Linked DNA regions of Homo sapiens: regions 1, 2, 3 and 4 are each linked to region 5. The links are contacts of gene promoters, found by promoter capture Hi-C in human tissues and cell types (Jung and others, 2019). All regions are on one chromosome and are shown on one strand. Each heading gives the region's core, a stretch centred on a gene start or on the middle of the fragment in contact. The rest is flanking DNA. Distances are from core to core; before and after follow the strand shown. Region 1 has its middle 27 kb from the start of LINC02674. Region 2 has its middle 43 kb from the start of LINC02674. Region 3 has its middle 60 kb from the start of LINC02674. Region 4 overlaps LINC02674 (long intergenic non-protein coding RNA 2674). Region 5 holds the start of EMX2 (empty spiracles homeobox 2).

What was found. Contacts are between HindIII fragments. The study calls those that stand out against the background at their distance.
Region 1: a contact is called between a fragment that was not itself captured here and the fragment with the promoter of EMX2 in region 5, in 1 of the 25 tissues and cell types used here (lymphoblastoid cells).
Region 2: a contact is called between a fragment that was not itself captured here and the fragment with the promoter of EMX2 in region 5, in 1 of the 25 tissues and cell types used here (lymphoblastoid cells).
Region 3: a fragment that was not itself captured here is called in contact with the fragment with the promoter of EMX2 in region 5 in 1 of the 25 tissues and cell types used here (H1 embryonic stem cells).
Region 4: a fragment that was not itself captured here is called in contact with the fragment with the promoter of EMX2 in region 5 in 1 of the 25 tissues and cell types used here (H1 embryonic stem cells).

What each region holds. Positions count from the first base shown.
Region 1 is chr10:117,760,625-117,763,324 of GRCh38, forward strand. No RefSeq gene overlaps it. Among named protein-coding and RNA genes, the nearest start is that of LINC02674, 27 kb to the left of the region's middle. The HindIII fragment of the contact is 4,904 bases long and covers 1-2,700 here.
Region 2 is chr10:117,776,866-117,779,565 of GRCh38, forward strand. No RefSeq gene overlaps it. Among named protein-coding and RNA genes, the nearest start is that of LINC02674, 43 kb to the left of the region's middle. The HindIII fragment of the contact is 5,618 bases long and covers 1-2,700 here.
Region 3 is chr10:117,673,765-117,676,464 of GRCh38, forward strand. No RefSeq gene overlaps it. Among named protein-coding and RNA genes, the nearest start is that of LINC02674, 60 kb to the right of the region's middle. The HindIII fragment of the contact is 3,786 bases long and covers 1-2,700 here.
Region 4 is chr10:117,737,314-117,740,013 of GRCh38, forward strand. All of the region lies in intron 2 of LINC02674 (long intergenic non-protein coding RNA 2674), which reads left to right. Among named protein-coding and RNA genes, the nearest start is that of LINC02674, 3.7 kb to the left of the region's middle. The HindIII fragment of the contact is 8,709 bases long and covers 1-2,700 here.
Region 5 is chr10:117,541,343-117,544,042 of GRCh38, forward strand. EMX2 (empty spiracles homeobox 2) reads left to right here and starts at 1,404. Exons shown (of 3, transcript NM_004098.4): 1 at 1,404-2,331. The coding sequence starts at 1,926. It also overlaps EMX2OS. RefSeq lists an enhancer at 2,619-2,700. The HindIII fragment of the contact is 12,526 bases long and covers 1-2,700 here.

The DNA.
Region 1 (2,700 bases), core at 170-2,669, 220 kb after region 5:
CAGCCATGTACCTTATTTAATTGGAAACCAGGAACCTTTGCGTGATCTAATGGCATCTTATGACTTTCATTCATTTCTGCCTGTTTGCTTAGTTGCCCATTTCTAAACTTGTTCTAAACCTTGATGAGGAAAGTAAATGCTGAGCGGGCAGGTACCAACAGAGTGTATTTAAGTGAGAAATGACATACTGAATGAAAACAAATGAAAGAATGAAATCAGCAATTAATGAAGTCCACAAAAATATAAAGTCTGGTACTGAAGACCATCTCTCCCGAGCGCCAACAACGCTTTTCTTTGAAACTGGAAAAGACTCCTGGGGTCTGTGTGGCATCGGGCAGAAGGGACAGGGAGACCCTGGTGCAGTGAGTGGCTCAGGAAACAGGCACAGAAACAGAGTTCTGGCCAGCCACATGATCTGGGGCCAGTTATCCAGGTTTATGGGGCTTCTTTTCCCTTAATTATATGAAAGGAGCCAAAATTAGTTCCACTCTTTTAGGGCTGTGCTGGGCTTAAATGAGATAATTCACGGGATGTGCTTAGCACAGTGCCAGGCTCATAGGGAGCACTCAATAAAGAAAGGATAAATGCCTTTCTAATAACTAGACCCATTTAAAGATGGCACGGGCTTCCTTGGGGATGGGATGGTGAGTTCCCTGCCACAGGAAGTGCTTAAGAGGAGATAATGGGGTTTTCAGAGTTTCACGTGCAGGAGCAGATGAATCACCTGAGGAGAGCATCAGTAGATTCTGATTTAAATAGGTTCTGGGTGGGGCCTGAGAGTCTACATCTCTAACAAACTCAGGTGATGCTGTTGCTGCCAATTGGCCGTATGTGAGTAGCAAGGAACTAGATGATTCCTTAAAGGATGTTGAAGAAGATCTGTGATCATCCATCAGATGGAGTGATGTGTTAGGCTTCTGTTGTCCCATGCGGTGGCCTCTCACCACAGGTGACACTGAGCATTTGAAAGGAAGCTAATTGAATCCAAAAGGAGAAATTCTGTGAGTGTGAAATACACATTTAATATAACAAAAAGAATGTAAAATAATCCAATAATTTTTATAGTGATGACATGCTGAAATGATAATATTTTGGATATATTAAATTGCTGTTTTTCTTTTTTTGCTGTGGCTTCTACAGAATTTAAAATGATGTATGTGGTTCACATTCTATTTCTGTTGGACAGTGATGAACTGGGTCATCTCCCAGGTCCCTTCTGAATGTGAGCACCCCGTGAACACTCTAAGATGACATACAAGCTTGTCCACGTGTGCATCTCCTGCGGAATGTTTGTAGCTTATTTCCTCCCACAGCTAAAGGCAGCCAGCAGAGAGACAGAGGGAGAGAGGCGCTAGGCTTTCCTTAGCTTCCTTTCTGCCTGGGGCGGGGGTGAAGAGTGAGGAGGGAGCTTGTGCGTTTGTCTTTGCTTCTTTCTCCCCATTTTTCTCTCTCAAAATTAATGGGAGACAAAATGCCTTGTCACTCTAGGGATATTCAATTTTTACCTTGAAACTGCCTTTCTGGACAGAGGCAAACCTTGTCTTCAGCACAGAGCTCCTTGCTAAGGGAACTGGAATTTTTACATCACCGTCTAAAATAAAGATGGCTGCCCGGGGGAGGCGTTCGTTTCCTTTGAGAGTTACGTGGTTAGGAACCTGGCGGGCGGAGGCCCTGGCAATGCCCATGGATGCAATGCCGTCACCTAGAAAGTTGTCTGGTGGACCAGGCTGTAATGTGCCTGAAGGGCTGGGGAGCAGAACTGTAGCCCTGCAAACCATGGGGCAACCAGAGCCGTGGGACAGGCAGCTGCTAGTTCAGGTCCCACCGCTGCAGACTTAGCATCATCTCATATGGCTTTGCGTGAGACCCTGCAGAGTGAGCCGTTAAGAGCCTGAATCCAGTCCTTATTCCTTTCTAGCTGGATGACTTCAGATAAGTGATACAAACTCTTTGTGCCTTGATTTTCTTATCTGTAAAATAGTGATGACAGTTATACCCACCTCATGGAGTTGTGAGAATTAATGAGTTAATATGGTAAAGGGTGGAGAATAGCTCCCAGCACAAGGTAAGGATAGACACGTACTGCCTGTTATTCTGAGATAATAAGAGCTCCCTGAATGGCAGCGTCTTTTTTTGGCTGGCAAATTACTCAGAAAACCCCCCTAAATTGCACACTTGTTTGAGTAAGAGTCAGGTCCCGTGTGGCAATGATGTAACATACCTATTTTTGGCAGACTTGGCAATTCAGGGAGTGACCCATTTTCCTGTGCTTCGTGGAGGTCATTGCAATGGGTTTCATCAACCAGCAGGCTTGGAAATGAGCCATAGGGTTAGAAGGAGCTTTTTCTACCACTCTAGACTGCTTTCACGGCGGTGCAGCTTATGTCAGGATTGGGGAGAGGGTGAAAGGATGCTGCCATGATGACACCACGTTCAGAATGATGGCCATGGAGACGGGTGGAGCAGTGGAACACATGTTCTTCACCCGACTCCCGCGGGGGACATTGGCTGCATCACAGGAAGTAGAAGTGTTTTTGTTTGTTTGCTTAGTTTTTGTCGTGGTAAATGCAACCTTGAGTTTCTAGGTGTCCACAGGACCTTTGGAAGATTCATGACAGCAACAAGGTGTTGTGAAGCTCCTGCTCTGGTGAGGCCCCAGCTCCCATCAGAGGATCAGAAGGTTCCCAAGTACCCCAGGAC
Region 2 (2,700 bases), core at 197-2,696, 240 kb after region 5:
TAAATGTGAGCTTGACTTTGTTCAGGTGTGGTAAAGATGCAAAACTGACCAAATTCAGCAGTGAAGATAAAACCACGTGGCTGGGTTGCTGGTGGAAAACCCTATGGGCACTCAGGGCCTTCCCTTCCTGAGAACTTCATGCCCTTTTCCAATTATCCATGTTTTTCTAGAGGAAGCAATGCAAGAGTCTGCTGAGAAAAATTAAACAAGATCATGAACTCGAAGGATGTGCGATATGTCTTAGCCATTCTAATTATGGACTTAAACTTAACAGCAGCCACATTTAATCAAACAACCAGATTCCAAGCATTTGGTTGGAGGCTGCATTAGGAAGAGTCACATGGAGGGAGCAGCTTAGGACTGCAAATCAGAATACTATCCAGGTGACCTTAAGTAGGTCACTGCCCCTCTCTGAGTCTCCTCATCTCTAAGATGGGGATAAAAATCCCGGGTCCTTGTACCAGGAATGTTGGGGAAATAAGTAGAACTATGGGAAAGAATAATAATTAACCACTTACATGGAAGGCTCTCCAGTTTCCCTACAGTTTTGTTTTTTTTTTGACGGAGTCTCGCTCTGTTGCCCTGGCTGAAGTGCAGTGGTGCGATCTCAGCTCACTGCAAGCTCTGCCTCCCAGGTTCATGCCATTCTCCTGAGTCAGCCTCCCGAGTAGCTTGGACTATAGGCACCCACCACCATGCCCAGCTAATTTTTTGTATTTTTAGTAGAGATGGGGTTTCACTGTGTTAGCCAGGATGGTCTCGATCTCCTGACCTCGTGATCTGTCCACCTCGGCCTCCCAAAGTGCTGGGATTACAGGCGTGAGCCACCATGCCCGGCCCCTTCCCTAGAGTTTTTACATCTACCTTTGGGTTTAGCAAAGGGTAATGTGAATCAAATATATAAACATAAAGGGGGTTTTATACTTCTTTAAATTATTTTCTGCTCATTTCATGTATTTCTTGTCTCCCTGATGAGTTCTTTTGGTAAATATTTACTGGGCATCTACTATGTGTGTGACTGGTAGATGGTAGAGATACAACCAGGAAAAACAGGTGTGGTCTCAGCTTTTACGGTGTTTATAGTCTAGTGGGGTGCCTACCAATAAAACCACCACATTCAATATACAGTTACAAATGTGATGAGTGCTGCGATGAAAAAAATAGAATGTGAGAGAATAAGAGAGAAGATCTGTCTTTGACAATTGTGGCGGGGAGGGAAGCTAGAGCTCTCTGAGGATATAAGATTTGTCCTGAGATGTGCAGAATGAATAAGAACTGGGGCCATGAGTGAGCAAGAAGAGAGGTCCAGGCAGAGGGAGGAGCAGGTACAAGGTTCTGCGGCAAAAAGAGGACCCAGGCTCTGGGAGCTCCCGAGGACAGAGCTGGGGTATTCTGCTTCCCTCTACACTGTATCTTGCTCCCTCCATCCCCACGACATCAAGGGCTTCTGGTCCAGTGTAGGGCACAGAGCTGGCTTTTCAGGGAGAATAACATGGTGGCCCTGGGGGCTGTTCCTCTGCAGTCCCATTTTCTTCCCTCTAAGGACAAGGTTGGGCTGCCTTTTTCTCCTAGATGAAATTGGACATGAACAAGTGACTTGCTTTGGCCGGTGGGATGTGGCCCAAAGTGAGGAGGGTCACTTTCTGGCAGAAGCTTGAAGATCTGGTGCTCAATTCGCCATGTTTCTCTCCCCTGCCACAAACTGGATATGTTCCACAGTGGAGGCTCTGTTGCCTTGAGTCCCCAAAGGAGAAGAATGCAGAACAGACCCCCCAACCCAGACTGACATGGAATATGAGCTCAAAATGAAGGTTCATTGTGCTCAGCCACTGAGGTTTTGTTGTGTTTTGTTTGACAGCACTGTACAAATTATAATATCCTATACAAGTTATTGTATGATAATGATGATGAGCGAGGGAGAGGGGAAGTGTAACAGGGAGGAAGTGCCCAGCATGAAGGTGTGTTGTTGAGTTTGCTGCTGTAGGTCTTGGGGGCTCAGCTGCCTGAAACTTGGGGAAGCCTGCAGACTGCCTTCCAGAATATTCTGGCTAAAGGACAGGACACCAGAGCATTTACCCACAGGCTCCATCCTTCATTGCTCAAAGGTTGCCCCAGCAGGGCTCATTCTCCCCCAACCTCACACTGAACTTGTAGGTGGGCTCCATGGGATTCCCTGATTTTGGAGAAGGTTCTAAAGCAGAGCCCGAGGTGGAGATACTCATCAGGCCCTTAACATAGAAACCTGCCAGCATGCAGAACACTACCCATTGCTTTTGGTGGTATCAAAGATGAAGTCAGAGACAGCTTGAGGGATGTGACACAGGACAGAGTCAGTATCTGCCACAGTTTGGCTTGCTGTGTTATCACTCCTTCTACTATTTGTGTTTTGAGAAGAGCCTGGGGGATAAGGTCACACAGCACTGAGGACGCAGACCATGAAAGTCGGAGAAAGGTACTGCTTCAGGAATTAAAGGTAGGTTTGCTCTGATGTCACCTCATCTAAGAAGCCCTCTCGGCTTCCCTCTACTGAAATATTTTTGCCTTCCTCTGAACTTCCCTCTGAACTCTCTTTTTGTCCCCAAGTAGAGCTATCTGCTCTGCCTGTGACTTCCCATGAATTTTCCTTACTAGATTGTCATATAGTTGAAGGCAGGACTCATTCCAGGCTCATATTCATGGACCTACTATGCCTAGCACAGT
Region 3 (2,700 bases), core at 25-2,524, 130 kb after region 5:
GAGAAAGCCAAGACCCAGGGAGGTCAAGTGACTCGTCCAAGGCCACACAGCTAGGAAATAGCAGAGCTGGTTTGCAAACGTGTCAGCCTGCCTCCAAAGTTCACGATTTTTCCATTTCTCCAAGCTGACTCCTGTCTATTCAGGTGAAGGGAGCTGCGGTGTGATGCTTACTTGCACCAAAGGTTTTTAGTGTGGACTCTCTAAAATGGGATGCAAGAGATAACAAGAATGAGAGCTCGAGAGACAGGCTGTGTGTGTGTGCATATGTGTGTGTGTGTGCATGAGTGCATGTTTAGGAGAAGGTCCCACAGCTTTCATCAACCTTTGTAATGCCCCAAAGGCCATGATTATCTGCCACTCCATCCTCTATAGATTTCCTTGGAGAAAATCACAGAACCCAGGCATGTAGTTTCTGTGTCCATTATGAGATACCATGTGAAATTCTCAAGGTGTTCACAGCTTAACTGAGCTACTATCTTGGAACACAAGTAAAGGGTAATATTGTTCTGCAGAACACAGAGACCTCTGCTTTCTATAAGGAAAATGTTACAGAGCTCATCTTATCGCCTGGCTCTTAGAGCATGAACGGTTTGAAAGCTTGTGGCGCAGACACGGCCTGTGGCTTATCTCAAAGACAGGGAACAGTGGGGCTCAGAGGAGAGTGGGAAAATCCTGTTTGTTTCTCTTTATTCCTGGGGACTTGCAGAGACCTAGCAGTGAGCTGGCTCTAAGAACAGAGGCCCGCCTCCCCGCCCATCCTCGAAAACTGATTCCTCCTCAGGTTCCTAACAATTGGTGTTTTATCACATTTCCACATGCAAAATGTGTGCCATTCTTCATTAGATTTTCAAGGCTCAGATTGATGAGGGCAAGGTAAGAGCCAGACACAAGGTATAAGAGACAAGGTTTAGTAATGAGTTTGAAATTTACAAAACACAGAAGCAAATATGGCTTCAATACACGACGTGACCCCTTATAAGGCTGGAAATTACTCTTCAAAAATCATTCTGGCCTGACTTCAGAGTCGAGTGGATGCTGGGATACCACAGATTGACTTTGAGAAGTGGGTTGGTATTGCAGGAATTTTTTAATTTCCTGTAACTCACAACAATTTTCTCCCAGTGAGACTTAGAGTCACTCCTGCGATGGTGCGCTGACCGCATTTGCTGAACAATCTGCTGCAAGAACCAGCTCAAGCAGAAAAGGAATATGTCAGGAGGAAGGGGACAAATGGGATTACCTTAATAAAAGTCATTAAAGGTTTTGAAAAGTATTTCCAGGTAAACGAGGGACCTGTTGCTTAAACAAATGTGTCCAGGTAAACGAGGGGCCTGCTACTTATGTATTTCAAAAAGTGAAATAAAAATGGCATCACTTACACTTCTGAACTGAAAAGAATTTGGGGAAAGCAGATTATTATGAATTATTTTTAATAGCTTCTTAATTAGCCCTTCAAACAGGTTTTTCAAAATCCCCAAAGGTGTCTAATTTGCATGACATGTTTTTACTTTTCTACGCATCTCATTAGCAGCACTTTGTTTTTTTAACCTAACAGCAAGATGGTATTACAACACTTTCAGAAGGTGGACCAAGAAAAGACAAGAAGAGAAAAAAGAAAAGAAAAGGAAAAAATCCTTAAATTATTGCTCCAAAAAAGTCCTGCGTTTCTTTTTCCATCTTCATGATGTCTTGCTATATTATCTCAGGGCACTCATTGGAGCTTATCTGTCTTTCAGAAATCACTAAACAAATCCGTCAGAGCAAAACCGTGGTGTGGAGGATGGTCTATTGGATGCGATCCACTGGGGCAAAGATTTATTAGGCGGACAACCCCTTCTTCTACCCAACAGCAAATCCATTACAATAATGGGCTTCGAACCCATCTGCAGGCAAACAGCGGGTCAGGAGGAGCCCGATGTGTGGACACTGAGCAATCTGAACATGGCTGCCTTTTACAATGTGTGAAGCCAGGCAGAAAAGCAGCACATTTGATTGAGAACAGAGGAGAGCGGCCAGAATCTGCCTTCCCTTTGCTCCCGCTTCCGGGGGGATTCATGGCGGGGGATCTGGAGGCGACACTTGGCAGCCAAGGGCGTGGGGCCAAATGGAGGGCCCGGAACTCAGAAAGAGAGGAGGGGGAGCTAATTAATGCTTTGTCCTGCCTGCCCTTCTCTCCTCCCTACCCCCAGCGGCCAACAACTACCACCACCATAATACTAAAGAGCAATATTATCTGGTGCTTACCATGTGCTAGTTCTTGTGCTAAGTGCTTTCCTGGAATTTTCTCCTCTTTATCCTGGCAGCAAAATAAACCCTATTTGTTAGCCCCATTTAACAGATAATAGCTATTTAATAGCTACTTGTATTGAGTACTTCTGTGTGGCAGGGCCTGTACTTTATTTGTATTAATTCAATTAATCACCACAACAGCCACTGGCATGGGTACTATTTTGGTCCCCATTTTACAAATGAGGAAAAGGAGGCAAAGAGACGTAACTTGACTTGGTCACACAACTGTGATCAGCAGAGATGGGATTTCAACCCAGGTTGTGGGACACCATCTGTTATCATCCCTCAAGGCCCATCCTAGTTGCCTCTTTCCTCCAGGAAGCCTTCTCTGACTTTCCCACAGATCTGCGTATCTCATTCTTCCTCAGCCATATTTCATTATTTGTGCAGTCCTCTGAAATGATAAACCCC
Region 4 (2,700 bases), core at 55-2,554, 200 kb after region 5:
ACGAATAGGTTCTTTTATTGTCCCCTTCTTATAGGAGGAAACTGAGGCTCAACACAGAAACAGATCACATGGCCAGGAGGTTGCAGGATCTGGGCTTGGAACCAGGACCTACACTCCTAACCATTATGCTGCACTGCCCCTCTGTTTCAGTCCCCAAAAGGGATAGGACACAGCCTCAGCCCTCTTGGGGCACAAAGCCACAGAAGCAAACAGAGAAGGTGGGTGGGAGGGGGTAGCTCCCTGCATAGGAGATCAGTAGCGACATATTACGGCTCTTACTACATACCAGGCCCTGTTCTAACTGGTTGACACATACTGTTAGCTGTTGAAATCTTCGCAGCAACCCTAGGTGGTGGGGAGTAACATCACCCCCATTTTATAGGTGAGGCAGATCCTGCTGCTTGCCCATGATCGCGGGGCTAGAAACTGGCAGAGCTGGGACTTGAACTCGGAGACCCTTTGCTCCAGGGTCCCTGCTGTTACCCTCATCCTGCATGAGGCCTCTGTCGGAGAGTCATGGTGCCCAAGTGCTGATGTGCAGGCAGCCCAGAGGGTGCTGAGTCTCTGATTGCTCAGGTGTTACGAAAAACACCCTGTGCTTAGAGTTCGAAGACCTGGCTTAGAGCCCCAGAGCTGCTGCTTCCTAACTGAAACCCTTGGGGAATCTCCATTTCCTTGTTTGTAAACGGGGGTAATGAGGTCAGCTCTACCTGCCCCCCAGGGCCACCGTGAATGAGGATTAAAGAAGATAATATACAGGGAAGCGCTCTGTGAAGTGCAAACTGCTGACCTCAGAAACACTCAGTTCCATGGCTCTGGTCCATGCTGGGCCCACCTCAAAGTTCATGCCCTCTAGTTCAGGATGCATGGCCCATGGAAAATGAAGAAGTGATTTTAAAAAATTGCAAAACGGCTATAAAAATAAGACAGTGAGATGTCTCATTTGATGATGCAGATTATTAGAGAATTAAATCTGTTACTTTAAAAAAAAATCTTTTTCTAGAAGGATTGGATTCAAAGGCACCTGGGTCAACACTTGCAGATGCCTGCAGGCCAGGCCTGGTGCTGGTGCTTTATGTGGTCAACCCCAGTGGGCCTTCTGCAGCCCTGGGAGTCGAGACTGAAATTGCATCCATTTTATGGGCCAAGACATTGAAAGGTGAAAGAACTGGAGCTAATGAACAGAGGAGCTGGTCTCTGAACCAAGTGCAGCTGACTCCAATCCCCGCAGCTTTGTTGCAGCTCTGCAGAATCCTCACACCAGCTTGGGGAGAAGGCTGCCTTTCTCTTCTGCTTCAGAACTTTCCGCTTTAGCTGCACATATATCTTGAGTGACTCCTCCCCACAACCTCAGCACTTTCATGTTTTTCAGCCCTTCTTATTGTTTTTTTTTGTTTTGTTTTTTTAATATTTTTAGTTTTTGAGAGTCTTGCTCTGATGCCCAGGCTGGAGTGCAGGGGTGTGATCTCAGCTCACTGCAACCTCCATCTCCCAGGTTCAAATGATTATTGTGCCTCAGCCTCCTGAGTAGCTGGGATTACAGGTGCGCATCACCACACCTGGCTGGTTTTTGTATTTTTGTAGAGATGGGGTTTCACCATGTTGGACAGGTTGGTCTTGAACTCCTGGCTTCAGGTGATCTGCTCGCCTTGGCACCCCAAAGTACTGGGATTGTAGGCATGAGCCACCGTGCCCAGCCCAGCCCTCCCTATTCTTAGGGCATCTACCACCCACATAATACCCCTGTTGAGTGTCTGGCGGCCAATTCCACAACCTGTCCACCTACCCAGCAGCTCGCTGCTTTTGTGTTAAAGGCTTGTGGTCAACACCCTGGACTTGAGCAAGGTGCAAGGCAAGGGAACACGCTCCGTCCCAGGTGCTCGCTGTGGGCCTGGACCTCCCCCAGTGTGAGCAACACCTTGGAGGGCCAGGATGCATGTGTTCGAGAGGCGGTGTAGCCTTGGGTTTCTCTCCACATTCACATCAGACCTGCCTCTGGCCCCAGGGGCTGAATTTATTTTGGCTTAAATGACAGGGTGGTCCGAAATAGTAAAAATACTCCCTTCATGAAGCCACTGGGTGAATCTAGTAAGGTTGTGAAGGGGATGTCAGCTGCCTCTGGGATTGTGGTGCCACTCTAAATGGGCTGCTGGGCCCTGGCATGGTGCTCAGGTTACCGGTGACTTTACCGGGATGCCAATATGCCCTTGGGAGGGTTCCTGCCTTTAGACCATGACTTCCAAGGAGGCCGATTTAGGCTGTATGATGGGGCATGAGGACGACGAAGGTATGTTCACTGCTTGCTTTGAACTCATGGGTGACCAAGAGCAACTCCATGCTGAATGAGTGCAAGAATGGGAATGAGGAGTCACTGGGGATGGAGGCCCCATTCCTTGCTTACTAGCTTGAGCAAATTATATTATTTCTCTATGCCTCAGTTTCCTCATCCATAAAGGTAAGGTCGTAACTGGATTGGGAGGAGTCAATTATGCAATATATAGAAAAGCATTTTGAATGGTGTTTGCCACAGAATAAGCAGGCAATAACTATTAGCTGACCCCAAAATATCAGCTTGACATTATCTTCTCTATGCACATTTGCCTTCCCATTCAAAATACGTAACACACAACAGTCACAAAGTGGAATGCCTTTTCAACTACATGTTGACAAGAGATGAGCCAGAAGTATATTCCTGGTTTC
Region 5 (2,700 bases), core at 154-2,653:
GCGGCTGATGAATAGATAATAGATCTTTAACCACCAATAAACAGAGAGCAGCGCCAGCAGCCTGGGGATGTGATCATAATTATGCCGCCGCGCGAGCCAATGGGGACGAGGGAACTCGGTCCTAAAATCATCCCAAAACCGAAGGCGAGCTCGAAAATGCGGACACGGCCCGGGACCGGAGATGCGATCCGTAGTCGTTAGTTGCACTGGGTTTGCACAGCAACCACCACCCCCCCACCAACCCCGGGACAACAGATGGCATAATAATAATAATAGAAATAATAATAATAAAATAATATCATCTATAATAATAATAACATTGACCACACTGACAAAAATAATTACGACGGAACCTTAATAGTACAGTAGCACCATATCGGGCTCTCCCCTGACCTTGGACTGCCGGTCCCAGATATTCCAGAAGGAATTGTTTTGGGGAAGGAGGTGAGCACCCTCCCAGACAGAAAACGCTAGAGACCGTGGGGCGAGAGAGGGAGAGAGTTGGAAGCCCACTGCTCCGGCGGGGTCGGCAGCTCCCGGTCTCAACTCGCAAACGAACGAGCCGGGTCAAGAATCGCGAACGCACCGACCCTGGGACCTCGAGGCTAAGCGTGGTTGATGGGGTGGGAGGACCCCGTACCCCTCACTCCAGGATCCCTCCTGGCCTAGGAAACCGCTGGGAGTTTTGCTAAGTGTGGGGATTGGTATAACCGAACGGCGCCTTTAGCCCGGGAACCAGCCCCTGCCCGCTTACCCTCGCGGTGCTCTTGGGGCGATCCCAGTTCTCCCGACGCGGGGCCGCGTAAGGCAGCAGCGGCGGAGCGCTAGGCTAGAGGAATCTGTCTGTCCTTCTGTCCTACCAGCTTGGGCGAGGCAGGCTCGGGATTCAGGGGGCCGCAGCGGAGGCGGCGCCGGCCAGGGACTCTGCAGGGACCGGGGTGCCCCGGAGGGAGTGGTGCTGGTGGAGGAGGAGGCGGTGGCTGAGGGGGAGTAGGTGGGGAAAGAGGAGGAGGAAGAAGAGGAGGAGGAGGAAGAAGAGGAGGAGGAGGAGAAGAAGAAACTGGAGGAAGAGGAGGAGGCGAAGGAGGAGGAGAAGCCGCAGCGGGCGCCGCAGGAGCGAGTGAGCTGGGAGCGAGGGGCGAAGGCGCGGAGAAGCCCGGCCGCCCGGTGGGCGGCAGAAGGCTCAGCCGAGGCGGCGGCGCCGACTCCGTTCCACTCTCGGCCCGGATCCAGGCCTCCGGGTTCCCAGGCGCTCACCTCCCTCTGACGCACTTTAAAGAGTCTCCCCCCTTCCACCTCAGGGCGAGTAATAGCGACCAATCATCAAGCCATTTACCAGGCTTCGGAGGAAGCTGTTTATGTGATCCCCGCACTAATTAGGCTCATGAACTAACAAATCGTTTGCACAACTTGTGAAGAAGCGAACACTTCCATGGATTGTCCTTGGACTTAGGGCGCCCTGCCCGCCTTTTGCAGAGGAGAAAAAACTTTTTTTTTTTTTTGCCTCCCCCGAGAACTTTCCCCCCTTCTCCTCCCTGCCTCTAACTCCGATCCCCCCACGCCATCTCGCCAAAAAAAAAAAAAAAAAAAAAAAAGAAAAAAAAAGAAAAAAAAAGAAAAAAAATTACCCCAATCCACGCCTGCAAATTCTTCTGGAAGGATTTTCCCCCCTCTCTTCAGGTTGGGCGCGTTTGGTGCAAGATTCTCGGGATCCTCGGCTTTGCCTCTCCCTCTCCCTCCCCCCTCCTTTCCTTTTTCCTTTCCTTTCCTTTCTTTCTTCCTTTCCTTCCCCCCACCCCCACCCCCACCCCAAACAAACGAGTCCCCAATTCTCGTCCGTCCTCGCCGCGGGCAGCGGGCGGCGGAGGCAGCGTGCGGCGGTCGCCAGGAGCTGGGAGCCCAGGGCGCCCGCTCCTCGGCGCAGCATGTTCCAGCCGGCGCCCAAGCGCTGCTTCACCATCGAGTCGCTGGTGGCCAAGGACAGTCCCCTGCCCGCCTCGCGCTCCGAGGACCCCATCCGTCCCGCGGCACTCAGCTACGCTAACTCCAGCCCCATAAATCCGTTCCTCAACGGCTTCCACTCGGCCGCCGCCGCCGCCGCCGGTAGGGGCGTCTACTCCAACCCGGACTTGGTGTTCGCCGAGGCGGTCTCGCACCCGCCCAACCCCGCCGTGCCAGTGCACCCGGTGCCGCCGCCGCACGCCCTGGCCGCCCACCCCCTACCCTCCTCGCACTCGCCACACCCCCTATTCGCCTCGCAGCAGCGGGATCCGTCCACCTTCTACCCCTGGCTCATCCACCGCTACCGATATCTGGGTCATCGCTTCCAAGGTACGTGCCACGTCGCGGAACTGCAGCGCGCCGCTCCCGCCGCATCCTTCACTGCCCCCGGCCTGCTCCGGGTGGGCGCTTGGCAAGGCCTGGGCGGAGGTTCCTCCGGCTCGCGGGCCAGCGCGCCCTGTTGGGAAACTAGGCGGCGCGGGGCCGGGCGTGGTGTCGATCCCCAGTCTCCGAAGCTACGACTGGTTTGGAGTGATGGCCTGCGGGCCGCTTGACCCTTTGGGAAGGGGTGCGAACGGAGAAGTTGTCCCCCAGTGCGCTCGAATCAGAGCAGGCTGGGCTGTGCGTGCCCGGCGCCGCGGAGCCCAGAGCCCGCGGGATCCCCAGGCTCCTGGTACCCTCGGCAATGCCCCCAACCGT